Regions from separate parts of the Homo sapiens genome. Here region 2 is linked to region 1. The links are contacts of gene promoters, found by promoter capture Hi-C in blood cells and fetal thymus (Javierre and others, 2016). All regions are on one chromosome and are shown on one strand. Each heading gives the region's core, a stretch centred on a gene start or on the middle of the fragment in contact. The rest is flanking DNA. Distances are from core to core; before and after follow the strand shown. Region 1 holds the start of MIR5787 (microRNA 5787). Region 2 holds the start of SEMA3F (semaphorin 3F).

Region 1 (5,921 bases), core at 2,101-4,600:
CCGCGCGGGGCAAGGGGGATGGGGTGCCACAGAGGGCTAGTTGCAAGAGGACGCGTGACGGCTGCAGCTCTGCGGAGACCGGGCCTCGACGGCCAAGGAGTGGCAGGTCGGCGGAGGCGGGGGCCAGGCCCGGAGGCAGAGCGAGACAGGAGAGCAGGCAAGGCGGGGGCCACCGTGAGTGGGGGCCGCGAGGCGGGGGCTGGGGCGCGGGGAGGTGCTAGGTCGGCCTCGGCTCCCGCGCCGCACCCCAGGCCCGCCAGGAGGCGCCGCTGCCCCGCGAAGCCGTTCCGGCCTCTCCCGGCCACCGAAATCCCGCGCTCCGGCCTAGAGAGGCCCCGGAAGAGGCGGTGCAGCGCACCCCGAGGCCGCTTCCGGCTTCGGCTCTGCAGGAGAGGCCAGAATCGGGGGAGGACGCCTTGGGCGGGGCGTGGGTGAGAGAACCTGGGGGAGGTGAAGAACTAGGAGGTTGCACTGGGAGTGGACAAGGGGGAAAATAAGAATTAGGGAGGGGCTGCGGTGGGCAGGGCCAAGGGCAGGTAGCACCCTGCAAGGTTGCACCCTGCGCAGCTCTCGGTCCACTGCTGAGCCTCCTGGCTTTTTACCTCGCAAAATGCCGTCCTGGTGAGGTCCCTGGGGAGCCCACCGCTGGCCAAGACCCAGGACAGGGCAAGGAAGGCTTCCTAGAGGTAGAGAGGTGCACAAAGGCGGGAAAGCAGATACGGGGACATTGGGAGCCCCTTTAGACCGATCTTTAGGTGTCTGAGCCACGCCCATTTGGAGGGAAGGCTGAATGGGGACCAGCCCGCCCAAACCTGCTGGAGGAAACAAAAACTCACTCCCGTTATAATTGCTCCCCGCCCCCTCACCAGCTCTCTTCTCCCCGGAGACGGGACAGCCCTGTCTCCACAGGCTTCACTCCATTTCCCTCGAATGGTGCCCACCTCCTATCCTCCCATCTCTCTTATCCTCAGGTTCTACTACTCATAGCAACCAGAAGGAACTTTAAAAATCAGATCATGTTGGCCGGGCACGGTGCACGGTAGCTCACGCCTGTAATCCTAGCACTCTGGGAGGCCGAGGTGGGCGGATCACCTGAGGCCAGGAGTTTGAGACCAGCCTGGCCAACATGGCAAAACCCCGTCTCTACCAAAAATACAAAAAAATTAGCTGGGCGTGGGGGCGCGCCTTGTAATCCCAGCTACTCAGAGGCTGAGGCAGGGGAATCGCTTGAGCCTGGGAGACAGGCTGCAGTGAGCCAAGATCGCGCCACTGCACTCAAGCCTGGGTGACAGAGCAAGACTCCGTCTCCAAAAAAAAAAAAAAAAAAAATTCAGATGATGTCATTCTGCCTTCAACACCCTCCAGTTGTTTCCTTCATACTTGGAATGCAATTTAAACTTTCTTGCCCCATGGCCGGGATGATCTGGCCCCTGCTGACCCCTGCCCCCTGGTACTAGCCCACAGCCTGTCCTGTTGGCATGGCATGCCATGCTGGCCCTCACATTAGGGCCTTTGCACTGGCTGATAGCTTTTCAAAAGCTTTTTCTCCAACAGCCTGAAGTCACTCCTGACAAGGCCCACTTCCCTAACTCTGTCTGCTTGGCCTTGATCGCAGTATTTGCTCCATACGGTACAGGCAGAGCGATGCTTGTGCGTCCAGAACTCAGTGACCAGCTTCCCTCCCGCAACAGGTCCCTCCTCCCCTATTACTCCCTTGCTCCTAGTCACAATCTACAGGAAGCCCCTGAGCCCAGCTGGCAAGGTGCACCTTGCTTGGCTGTTTGCTGTTGCATCACCTTCATTAGGGCTGTTTTTGCTCCTTCATTAAATTAAATTCCAGGAAGCAGTGCTAATGACAGCCCTAACGAGTCACGGGAGAGGCTACCAGCCCCAGCCTTTGGAAAGCATGGCAAGGAGGACTAGGCAATAACATGAACAAAGCAGTAGCTCCTGGGAATAGAATTGATTATCATTTCCCAGGCCCCCCAAGGACCCTGGGCTTCCCAGGGGAGGTGGCCTTTGGAGACTGCCTATGCAACAGGCACAGTGGCAGGTTGTACCATGAACTCTTCAAGGACAAAGAAAAGGAGGGAGGTTAAGTTTAGGCCTTGGCCCCAAAGCCCTGAGAGCTCCTGAGTTCCCTGCAGGGCTTGGGTAGCTCCTCCCCAGTCATACAGGAACACCCTGAATGCCAGAACCAGTTGGGTTTGTAGGGCTAGGTGTGGATCACTGGCTTGGAGATGTTGGTGCCCCTACCTCAGCATCCCCTGGAGACTTTGGAACCCCCTGTGTGGCTTGTTCCTCCATGATGCCTCATGGCAGTCCCCTCTCACACCAGTCTTCTCTTGCTCTCGCTATTCTGGCCCGGCTGGACTCCTCTCTGGTTTGGGAGCATCCAGCTCCTTCCCAACCCAGGGCCCTTGCACTTGCTGCTGCCTCTGTCGTCACTCTCTTCTGGCTTGTTACAAGACTGGTCCTTCCACATGATTCAAAGATCCCCTCCTCAGACTATCTTCTCCTGCACATACCTCCCAGTGGCTCTAGTGTCACCCTGTTGATTTCCTCTGAAATGGTGAAGTTCATTTCCCTGTTTGTTTGGTGTGTGTTCCTCAAGGACAGGGCCCAGCTGCCTCTTTTACCATAGGGTTCTCAGCACATTGGCAGGCAATATGTTCAGGGAACAGTGGTTGAACAGATGACCCCTTCCTCTGGATCCTCCCGCACTGCCCCCCAGCCGCCACCCCTGTGTCAGGTTGGGCCCCCTTGCCTAATCCAGAAGCTTATGGGGAAGGGGTGCTGGGGCCTGAATTCTCCAGGTCAAAGCCAATGATCTGTGAAGAGGGTGGATGACCAGAAAGGGGGACTTTGGGATCCAGGACCCCCAGGCTTTTGAGTTTTCCTCCTGGACGAAGAGAGGCCTGGGAAGAGGGGTCTGCAAGGGAGCAGGGAGGGAGGGCAGGATGGCTGACTCCAGTTTCAGAACTTCCACTGGGCTAAGAAGCAGGAAGGGGAAAGCGCAGGAGTTGAACCAGGAAGTAGAACCTGCCCCAGGGCAGTAAGGCGGGAGCAAGCTGTAGCCACGAGGTCTACAAGCAGTAGCTGCAAGGCTGTGATTGAGTTGGTCACAGGTCCTTGGCCAGGGACTCCCTGTCATCTGGGAGCCGTGGAGGTAGGGTGGTCAGGATCCTGAACTCTGGGCATCCCTGTGGGGTCCTACCTAGTCCTGGACTCTGGGCAGGGACAGGCACACCCACCCCGAAACTGCCTTTGGGGAAGTGCTAGCAGCTTCCCCTTCCTAGAGCCTGCAGGCAAGCATGTCACAGCCCACTGAGAGGGTCTTCATTCCTCAACCTGCTCAGGGCTACTGCTCGATAGGAACTCAGGCCAAGCTGGACCTGCTGTGCTGCCTGTGGTGAGCCCCAAGACTATTCTGGCAGTAGGGGTGAACCAGCAGCTGCCACTTCTCCATTCCAGCTGAGGGGCCACCCTCAACTCTGCTGATGTCATTCCATTGTCCTTTATGGTCTAGTCCAAGCGGTGCTGGGCCTGGTGGGCATGGGGTCAAGTCATGCCTCCTCTGGTGCTCGTGAGGCCCTGGCTAGGCAGCTGCCCTCTGCCCCCAAAATGAACTCTCCTGAAAGGACTCCTGGATTCCTGAGTATGAAGAAACTGAGATGCCCACGATGTACCTCACTGATGACTGTGACTGGCTCCTGGCCCACTCTGGACCTCAGCTGACTCAGCTGCAAAGCAAGGGGTTTGTTTCTTCAGCTCTCAGCCTTAATTTTCTCGCTAGCCCTTCCCCAGACCCCTGCCTCTCAGACCTACCACCCTACCTTTGCATGTACTCTTCCATCTTCTTGCAATATTCTTCCGCACTGTTCTTCTCCCTCTAGCACTCCCTGCATCACCTCCTCAAAGAAAGCTTCCTGACCTTCCCAGGCACTATTGGTTTCTCTTTTCTCTGCGTATACAACTACATGAATATTTCCAGAGGGGCAGCAGCTCCCAGCTCCAGGATGAAGAGATTGATTGATGGATTGATTGATTGATTTTGAGACAGAGTCTACCTCTGTTGCCGGGCTGGAGGGCAATGGTGCGATCTCAGCTCACTGCAACCTCTGCCTCTTGGGTTCAAGCGATTGTCCTGCCTCAGCCTCGCAAGTAGCCGGGATTACAGGCATGCGCTGCCACGCCCAGCTAATTTTTGTATTTTTAGTAGAGATGGGGTTTCACCATGTTGGCCAGGATAGTCGATCTCTTGACCTCATGATCTGCCCACCTCAGCCTTCCAAAGTGCTGGGATTACAGGCTCGAGCCACCGCACCCGGCCTTATTCATTTAAGTTGATACATATTTACCTGCCACCCTGCAAGGGGCCTGGAATTAGGGATATGAGTGGGAGAGACCCACGACCAGAATAGTGGGATCTGGCTGGGGAAGGGGAAGCCCGAGGACAATGGGACTCAGAGAAGCCCAGCTCACAGCCAGGGAATGAAAGGTGGGGAGGAGGGATTAATTTAACAGGGTAGGGGGATGGGAGGGAAGATCGAGGGATGGAGAGAGCAAGGCAAGCCAGATGGTTGGAGTGCCAGTGTGTTGCAAGTGGAGGGACATGAGGTGGACCCTTGAGTGGGGACAATCATAAAGCCTTACAGAAATCGCTACTATTGGGCCAGGCACAGTGGTTCATGCCTGTAATCCCAGCACTTTGGGAGGCCAAGACGGGAGGATTGCCTGAGCCCAGGAGTTTGAGACCAGCCTGGACAACATGGTGAGACTTCATCTCTATTAAAAAAAAAAAAAGGGCCGTGCACGGTGGCTCACACCTGCAATCCAGCACTTTGGGAGGCCGAGGCAGGCAGATCATCTGAGGTCAGGAGTTTGAGACCAGCCTGGCCAACATGGCAAAACCCCATCTCTACTAAAAATACAAAAATTAGCCGGGTGTGGTGGCAGGCGCCTGTAATCCCAGCTACTTGGGGAGCTGAGGCACAAGAATCACTTGAACCCAGGAGGCGGAGGTTGCAGTGAGCCAAGATCATGCCACTGCGCTCCAGCTTGGGTGATAGAGTCAGACTCAGTCTCAAAAAAAAAGAAATCACTACTATAACACCTCACCCTTATTGAGGGCTTTCTATGTGCCATGCACATTCTGCATGTTTTACATGTTTCCTCCTGGAGTCCTGACCTCTGCCTGTGCTTTGGGTATGTATAACCGTTAGGCCCATTTTACTGATAAGAAAACCGAGGTACAGGGAGTTTCTGGTACTTGTCCAAAGTAACAAGTAGCTGGCAAGTTTGCAAACTGCTCCTCAGAGTCTTTGCTTCCAACTGCCAGCCTACAGCCTCCAACTGCTGCAGAGTCCAAACCAGTGTGTGTGGGGGCTTCATCTATTCTCAGGGCATTGGGGAACCACAGAAAGTTTCCGAGCAAGGGGGTGATGTGATTTCTTTCAGTAGGATGCCCTTGGCTGCCATGTGGAGGATAAATTGTAGGGAAACAGGAGAGCCAAGGAAGACGTTAGAATCCTAGGCTGGGAGATAGTGGGGACAGAGAACAAATACAGATTGGAGGGGAAATTGAGGTAGGGAAGAGGCTGATGGCATATAGGGGTAGGGGAGGGGGTCATTGCTGTGGCTGGTGGGGGGATCATGAAGTGGTGGAGAGCCTGGGAACAGGGGCCAGTGGGATGGGATGTACCCAGTTCTGGACAGTGTGGATTTGAGGTGCCTGGGTGTCTCGGGGAGGCTTCAGAGCAGTGGTGGACATGGGGCTGGCAATCAAAGAAGTCAGGCTGGAGAGGACCTTGTGGGGTTCTGAGCCCCCAGAGTGGGAGGTGTATGAGTGGAGTGGCAAGCAGAGGCCTGGCCATAGCCCTGGGGACCCCATGGAGATGGAGAAGGAGCAGCTAGCAGGG
Region 2 (6,185 bases), core at 889-3,388, 75 kb before region 1:
GCTCAATTCTAGCTCTTTGCCCTCTTCCTGGCCCCCTTCCCTGGTCTCCCTGCCATTGAAGGCCTCTGTGTGCTGGGCCTATTCTGTGTGTCTGAGTGGAGCTTCATGAACAGATCAGTTGAGCCTCTTTCCTTCCCAACCCAGTACACTGGAGTCTCTGGCAAGTCCTGACAGCTCTTCCGTGGTAACCAGCATGATGCTAATGATGCTGGAGATAGTGATAGAAGTGGCCAGGCTATAAGGAGACCATGGAGGCTGTGAGAGGATGGAAGGGATGGTGTTGGAAGCCATAGAGATGGTGGCTTAAGCTGTATTGGTGATGGTGGTGCAGTGGTGGTGACCTCAGGGGTGACCCTCATACAGATGAGTGGGGATGAGGAGAGATGGATTGTCACAGTGTTTTCAATGAGGCGTGACAAAGGGGAGAGGTGCAGGTGCTGTCACAGCAGCTCCATAACTCCAGGATGGTGTTTGCTCACCTCAAATGCCCTGCCTGTGCTTGGAGCATGAGGCAGCACTCTAAGTCCTGAGTCAGGAGACCCTCAGCAGGATCCCTAGTGCCCAGCTCCACCTTGCACTTGGAGTCAACCAGTCAATGGGTCAGAGGGAGAGAGGTCTTTTCCTGGAGGTCTTGCTAGCCAGGGAGAGAAGTGGGAGGAGGAAGAAGGCGGAGAGGAGGAGTGAGAAGAAAAAGAGAAAGGAGGAAGAGGGTAAAGAGCAGGAAGAAGGAGGAGGAAGAAGAGAAGGAAATGCATGGGGTGGAGGAAGAGAAGGGAGAGGAGGAGAGGGCAGAGAAGGAAAAATCCAGGAGAAGAGAGGAGAAGGAGGAAAAGGAGGGAGATGGAAAAGAGGGAGAAGAGGAGAGAGGAAGAGGGAGAAGAGAGGGGAGAAGGAAGGAGAGGCAGAGGGAGAAGAGGAGAAAGGAAAGAGGAGAAAGAGGAGGGCACAGAAGACAGAACAGGAAGAGGATGAAGGAGAGGACAAAGGGCCAACGCCCCTGGGAGCCTCCGCAGGGTGCCCGGGGCAGGGCTGAGAAGTGGTCCTGGTGGTGAGGCCATGACCTTGGAAAGTTGGGTTGGGCAGAGGGTCCCTTCCTGGGGTCACGGTAGGCCCTTCTCAGTTGCTGAGCCATTGGCTCATCACCAGGCCATTTGAAAGCAAATGTCCCCTTGAGGAGAGAAGGTGCTAGCTGATCTGGCCTCTCTAAGGTATGGAACTATAAGGAGAGTCTGTGGGAGCTGCTGGCCTGAAATAAGGGCTGGCGATTGAGGCGATCACGGGGAGTCGTTGAATGGCTGGAGAGAGCTGTGTGGCTGGGCTGCCCCCGACCTGGCCTAGGCTGGAGGCTGAGCCCGCGGGAAGGTCCGGCGGTGCCAGCCGTCCCAGGGGCTGCACCGCCACCTGCTGAGCAGCCCGGGCAGTCAGGGGTCCTGCGCCGCGGGGCCCACGCACGGGACCAGGGGCACGGCCGGCGGCGAGTGGGAATGAGGGACGCGGAAGGGGGTGCTCAGGTGAGCGCAGGCTCGTTGCTCCCTGGCGCTGCAGCCCTTCTCGCCAGGGAGTTGAATGCCCGGGTAAACACCAGGCGCGATGTGTGCGGTGTATTCACAGAGAGACAAAGCCAGGGCGGGGCGGGGGCGCCGCCCGCGAAGCGGGGGCGGGGGCGAGGGGTGCAGACTAGTCTCCCCCGGCGCGGGGTGCCCACCGCCTGGGAACCCTGAGCCCGGCCCACGGACAGGTGGAGCGGGGGCGGGGCGGTGGCTGGGCGGGTCCCGCCCCGGGGGTGGGGCTGGGCGGGCCGGGCGGGGCGGGGCTGCGCTATGCAAATGTCGCCCACGGGCGGCCAATTGCCGGCGCTCCCCGCGCGGCTCTGAGCGCCCCGTCCCGCCGGCGGCCGCGAGACCAGAGCGAGCGAACGAACCGCGGCGGTCCGGAGAGCCCCGAGCGCAGCGCAGGACCTGGGTACGCCGCGAGGAACCGTGCAGCCCAGCGCGGCCGCCCGGCCCGGGTCCAGCAGCCAGGAGAGCGCAGCGCTTCGAAGCCGAGTGCGCGCCACCGCCCGCGCCCCGCGCTGGGGAATGCGCCCTCGGCGCGCCGGCCAGGGGGCGCCCGCAGCCCACCCCAGGGGAGGCGGCCCCGAGCGCCCCTGAGCCTTCCCATGGCCCGGGCTGGGGCCCGGGCCCTCGGCTGCTGACGCGCCCGAAGCCCGCGGAACCGGTTAAGCCGCGGCCGCGGCGCCGATCCCGGCTGAGGCGCAGCGGCGAGAGGTCGCGGGCAGGGCCATGGCCCCGGGGGGCCGCTAGCGCGGACCGGCCCAACGGGAGCCGCTCCGTGCCGCCGCCGCCGCCCGGGCGCCCAGGCCCCGCCGCTGCGGAAGAGGTGAGTGCAGCGGGAACCGGGAGGGAGCGGGCAGGCGGCCGGGCCACCCCGCGACCCCTCTGGGACCCGCGGCACTGCAACTCCGCAGAAGTGTCCGGGGAGCGGGTCTCGTCGAGCCGGGGGGCTGCCCGCGGACATAGGGGCAACAAGGCTGGGGTGGGATTCTTACCTGTCCTGGAGGCCCGGACCCCTTACCTACGGGGCGGCGTATGGATGTGTGGATGATGTGGCCTGCGGGGTCACCCATGTGCAAAGCAACTTTTTCCTGCAAGGTTCTGGGTGGGTGCTCTCATACACCCCCACCTTCACGCTTCTGGAGCGGGAGTTCCGATCCCCCTTCTGCCTCAGCTCTCTCTCCCATTAACGCCCGAGGCAGCGCTCTTCCCCGTAGATGCGCTTGCCCTACCTCAGTGTCTCTACTTGAGGACTGGCCAGCCCGAAGGGAAGCGGTATACTGGCAGTCCCCACGTGGGGGGTCTCCCACATCAGCAGAGTGGGAGGACCTCCAGTCCTGAGGCATTTCTCCCAGCATTGTGCCAGCCCCTTGACCCCCAGCTGCCACCTTGGGTTTGCTTTTACAGCAGAGTCCTGCCTGGATTAGGGGCACGGCTGTATGTAGTGTGTAGGTGAGCTTGGAGAGCCTGCGGTCAATCCCTAGTTTGAACCAGGGGTCCCAGTGGTGAAGTGGGCAGGGGACAGCGGGGGCTTGGCGGGGTTGCCCCCAGCAGATGGGACAGGAGGGTATCAAAGTTGGCCTAGGAATGAGGCAGTGCTGGCGGGAGTTGGCTGGAGCTGGGGCTGGGGGCCCCACTGGATAAATAACTCCTAATTTTTGAGATAGCTGTGTTTTGCCACCAGAACATTACTGCTTGGGAGAGGTAAGGGAGACGCCAACCAAAGACACCAGTATGTCCACCCTGAAGCTGGGCCAGGTTGGGGACCTCTGTCCTCCTGAATTCACCCAGATAGTCTCCCAGTAGTTATCCTAGTTGCAGAGAAGGGAAAACTGCACCCAGGGGTTGGGAGCCCCATCTCAGCCCAGGGAGTTGGATGGAGCTGAGGCCTCTTCCCAGGCTACCCAAGGGGTGTGCCAGGACCCCGTAGGGTATAGTGTCTAGGCAGGCGGGGGGCACAGGCATGCCTACTCCTGCTGCTCCCCCTTCAGCTCCGAAGGAGCCAGGCCCGGAAGTGGGGAGGTGGGGGCCGGAGAGAAAGCAGGGGCCAGAGAGAAGGCGGCAGCCCACCCAGCCTCAGCCCCTCGCTGCTCAGCATACCTTGGGGGGAGGATGGAGCCAGGCTCAGGTGACCTTGACTGGGAAACCCTGGCCACAAAAGGGGGGTTTCAGTCCCAGCTATGCTGGGGTGGCTCTGCTTCCTGGTCCTTGAGGTGTTGGGGGATGGGGAAGCTGAGGAGCCAAGAAGGAGACAGAGCTCTTGTTGAAGTGGGGGAGGGAATCTGAGGGGCTGGGTAGCGGGTGGGGTGCTGTTGATAATCTCCCCATGTTCCCCTACGGCCCCTGTTCCTGCCTCCCTTCCATCCAGGCAGTCCTCAGCTCGGAGGAGCCAACCTCCCTTCCTGGAGACAGGCTGTCCACCCCCACCCCCAACTCCAAGCCTGGGCGGTCTGGATCCGGCTGTACAGTTTGGCCACCTGGCCCCCTGTCCCATCCCAGGTGCCTCCGGACTCCTTCCTCTGGCCGCCTCTTCCCTGCACCCCTTGCCAGCCCCGGCTCCTCGTTTCTTTGTTCAAGCGTCTCTCCTCCGTCCCTCCCTCTCTCCTCCCTCTCTCCTCCTCCCTCCCGCCTGCCTCCCTCCCTTGCTCCCTCCCACCAGCCTTCCTTCCCTCCTTCTCTGCTTTCTTCCTGGTGGGCTCCCAGGTGGCGGTGGCTGTTCTTCCTCTGTCCACTGACCTGGGCTTGGTGTGACTTGGGGGCTTTTCTGGGGCTGGGGCTGGGTGACAGGCATCTCGGGACTGGCAGAGGGGAAGGCACTGTGGGTTTGCCCTTTCTTTCCCTCTCTGTCCTTCTTCTCCTTTTCTTCCTTCCCTCTCCTTCTTTCCCCCACCTGCCAGGCTGTCCAAGAGGGGACCTGGACTTGAGACTGAGGCCCCAGCAAACTTGAGCCCCTCCCCATTCACCTCTTTAAAAGGCCAAAGCATTTGGATGGGAAGTCCCTGTAGGGACCCAGTAGAAAGACTCCCCACCTCTCTGGACACATTGGGTGACTCCAACCCTGTCCTTGGTGACACTGACTTTGTCACCATGAACATGGATGAAGGAAAAAATGAGGTCATGGGGAGGGGGGAGGCGGGAGGCAGGTTGACAGGAGCCCCCGTTACATAGTATCGAAGCTCTCTGAGGGACTCAGACGGCATCTTGCGCCAGGACAGTATCTCCCAGCTCCCCTGAGCCCCACCCCACTAGCAGGTCAAGTTCTTGAGCAAACTCATGCTTGTAAGGACGTGTGTGGGCCTGCAAGTGTGAACGTGTGCATATCCACAGCTGTTATCAGGGGCCTCCCAGGTGCACCTTGAGGGTGACGGTGGCTGCACAGCCATTTCTCCCACCTGCCCCCACTTCTCAGAGCCTGCCATTCAGTCAGCACTAGCTTTGTGCCTCCCAGACCTGAGGAGGGGCTGGTTCTGATTCCCCCATCCCCCAGCTAGCCTCCCCAGGAGGCAGCATCTATGACAGGGGATCTGGAAGGACCATGAGCGGTGTGCCAGGCCCTCGGGAGAGAACATTCACACAGAGGGTACCGCGTAAGGAGTGGGCCAAGAGGCTGAAGCTGCACTTCCTGTCTGAGGAGCCATGAGTGGTTTGCCTTGGCAGGAGAGGCCAGGGCTGGGGGAGGTGGGTCTAGGGATGTCATCAGGGTCTAATGAGTGGGGCCTAAGAGTCAGACTGGAGCCTGGGCTTTGCCTCAGCATTGAGCAGCTATGGCAGGGGAGTCCCAGGCCATAGTACTGCCAACTCCCATCCCAGCATCCTAGAGATGGGCCTGGGGTCCTGCCTGCCACGGAAGAAGGGAGTACACAGGGCAGATCTGGGGGATGGGGCTCACATTTTCAGTCTCGATGCCCCCACCCGCAGTGCATCCGGTTGGGGGTGGTGGTAGGAGTTGGCGCTGGTTTGTGCCGGGAGGGAGCAATATGTTCTGACAACTGGTGCTGGGCTGCGTTTACCCAACAGCCAGCCTGCCTGGGGAGACAATATTTGAAAAACACAGTATTGAAACTTGGACCTGCTGGGGCTATGGGGGATTCTGAAGGTGGCAATGCCGCTGGCCCAGATCCAGCCCCAGGCCCACTGGCCATCCTAGCTTCCCTTCTTTGCCCTCTAGAGGCGGAGCTGGAAGTTTTCCCTGGCAGGAAGTCCTTCTGCCTGTCTGACCTGGGTCTCTCCTGCTTTGATTTTAGTACAAGTGGACTCTGCCATTCTCTGCCTTTCCTTTTCTGACTGGTGCTCCCTCTCTTCCATCTTGGGCTGTCTGCATGTGTCTCATTCCCCCACTCTCTCCTGTGCCTCCCCTCTACCGTAATAATCAGGTCCAGGTTTCTCTGTACTGGGAGAAGACCTGTGGCTGGAGCAGGCAGGGATGCACCCTATCTGTTCCCCATTCCTCCAGGTGGGAGGGAGAAGGAGTAACCCACTTTATTGGCCACAGATGCAGGGGAGAAAGGAGAAAGCATGCTGGGAGCTGGAAAGAGCCCTAAGATCACCTGGTTGGTCTGGGCCCTGTGAATGGAATTCAGCATGCCATGAGGGGTAGGGTTTGAGTCTCCAGCAGCCCCCATCAGTTCTGGT

What was found. Contacts are between HindIII fragments. The CHiCAGO score rates a contact against its expected background, and 5 or more counts as called.
Region 2: a contact is called between the fragment with the promoter of SEMA3F here and a fragment that was not itself captured in region 1, in 1 of 17 cell types (endothelial precursors). The highest score is 5.2, in endothelial precursors.

Annotation. Positions count from the first base shown.
Region 1 is chr3:50,227,242-50,233,162 of GRCh38, forward strand. MIR5787 (microRNA 5787) reads left to right here and starts at 195; the gene lies at 195-249. It also overlaps a transcript of GNAI2 not described here. RefSeq lists a silencer at 38-407 and an enhancer at 3,316-3,545. The HindIII fragment of the contact is 1,146 bases long and covers 2,778-3,923 here.
Region 2 is chr3:50,153,186-50,159,370 of GRCh38, forward strand. SEMA3F (semaphorin 3F) reads left to right here and starts at 2,139. Exons shown (of 19, transcript NM_004186.5): 1 at 2,139-2,379. It overlaps LOC124909484 (basic proline-rich protein-like), which reads left to right and starts at 1,485. Exons shown (of 2, transcript XM_047449434.1): 1 at 1,485-1,511; 2 at 1,876-2,604. The coding sequence starts at 1,485. The coding sequence ends at 2,604. SEMA3F-AS1 (SEMA3F antisense RNA 1) reads right to left here and starts at 2,900. Exons shown (of 4, transcript NR_135301.1): 1 at 2,549-2,900. RefSeq lists silencers at 1,414-1,473, 1,484-1,623, 1,654-2,123. The HindIII fragment of the contact is 18,046 bases long and covers 1-6,185 here.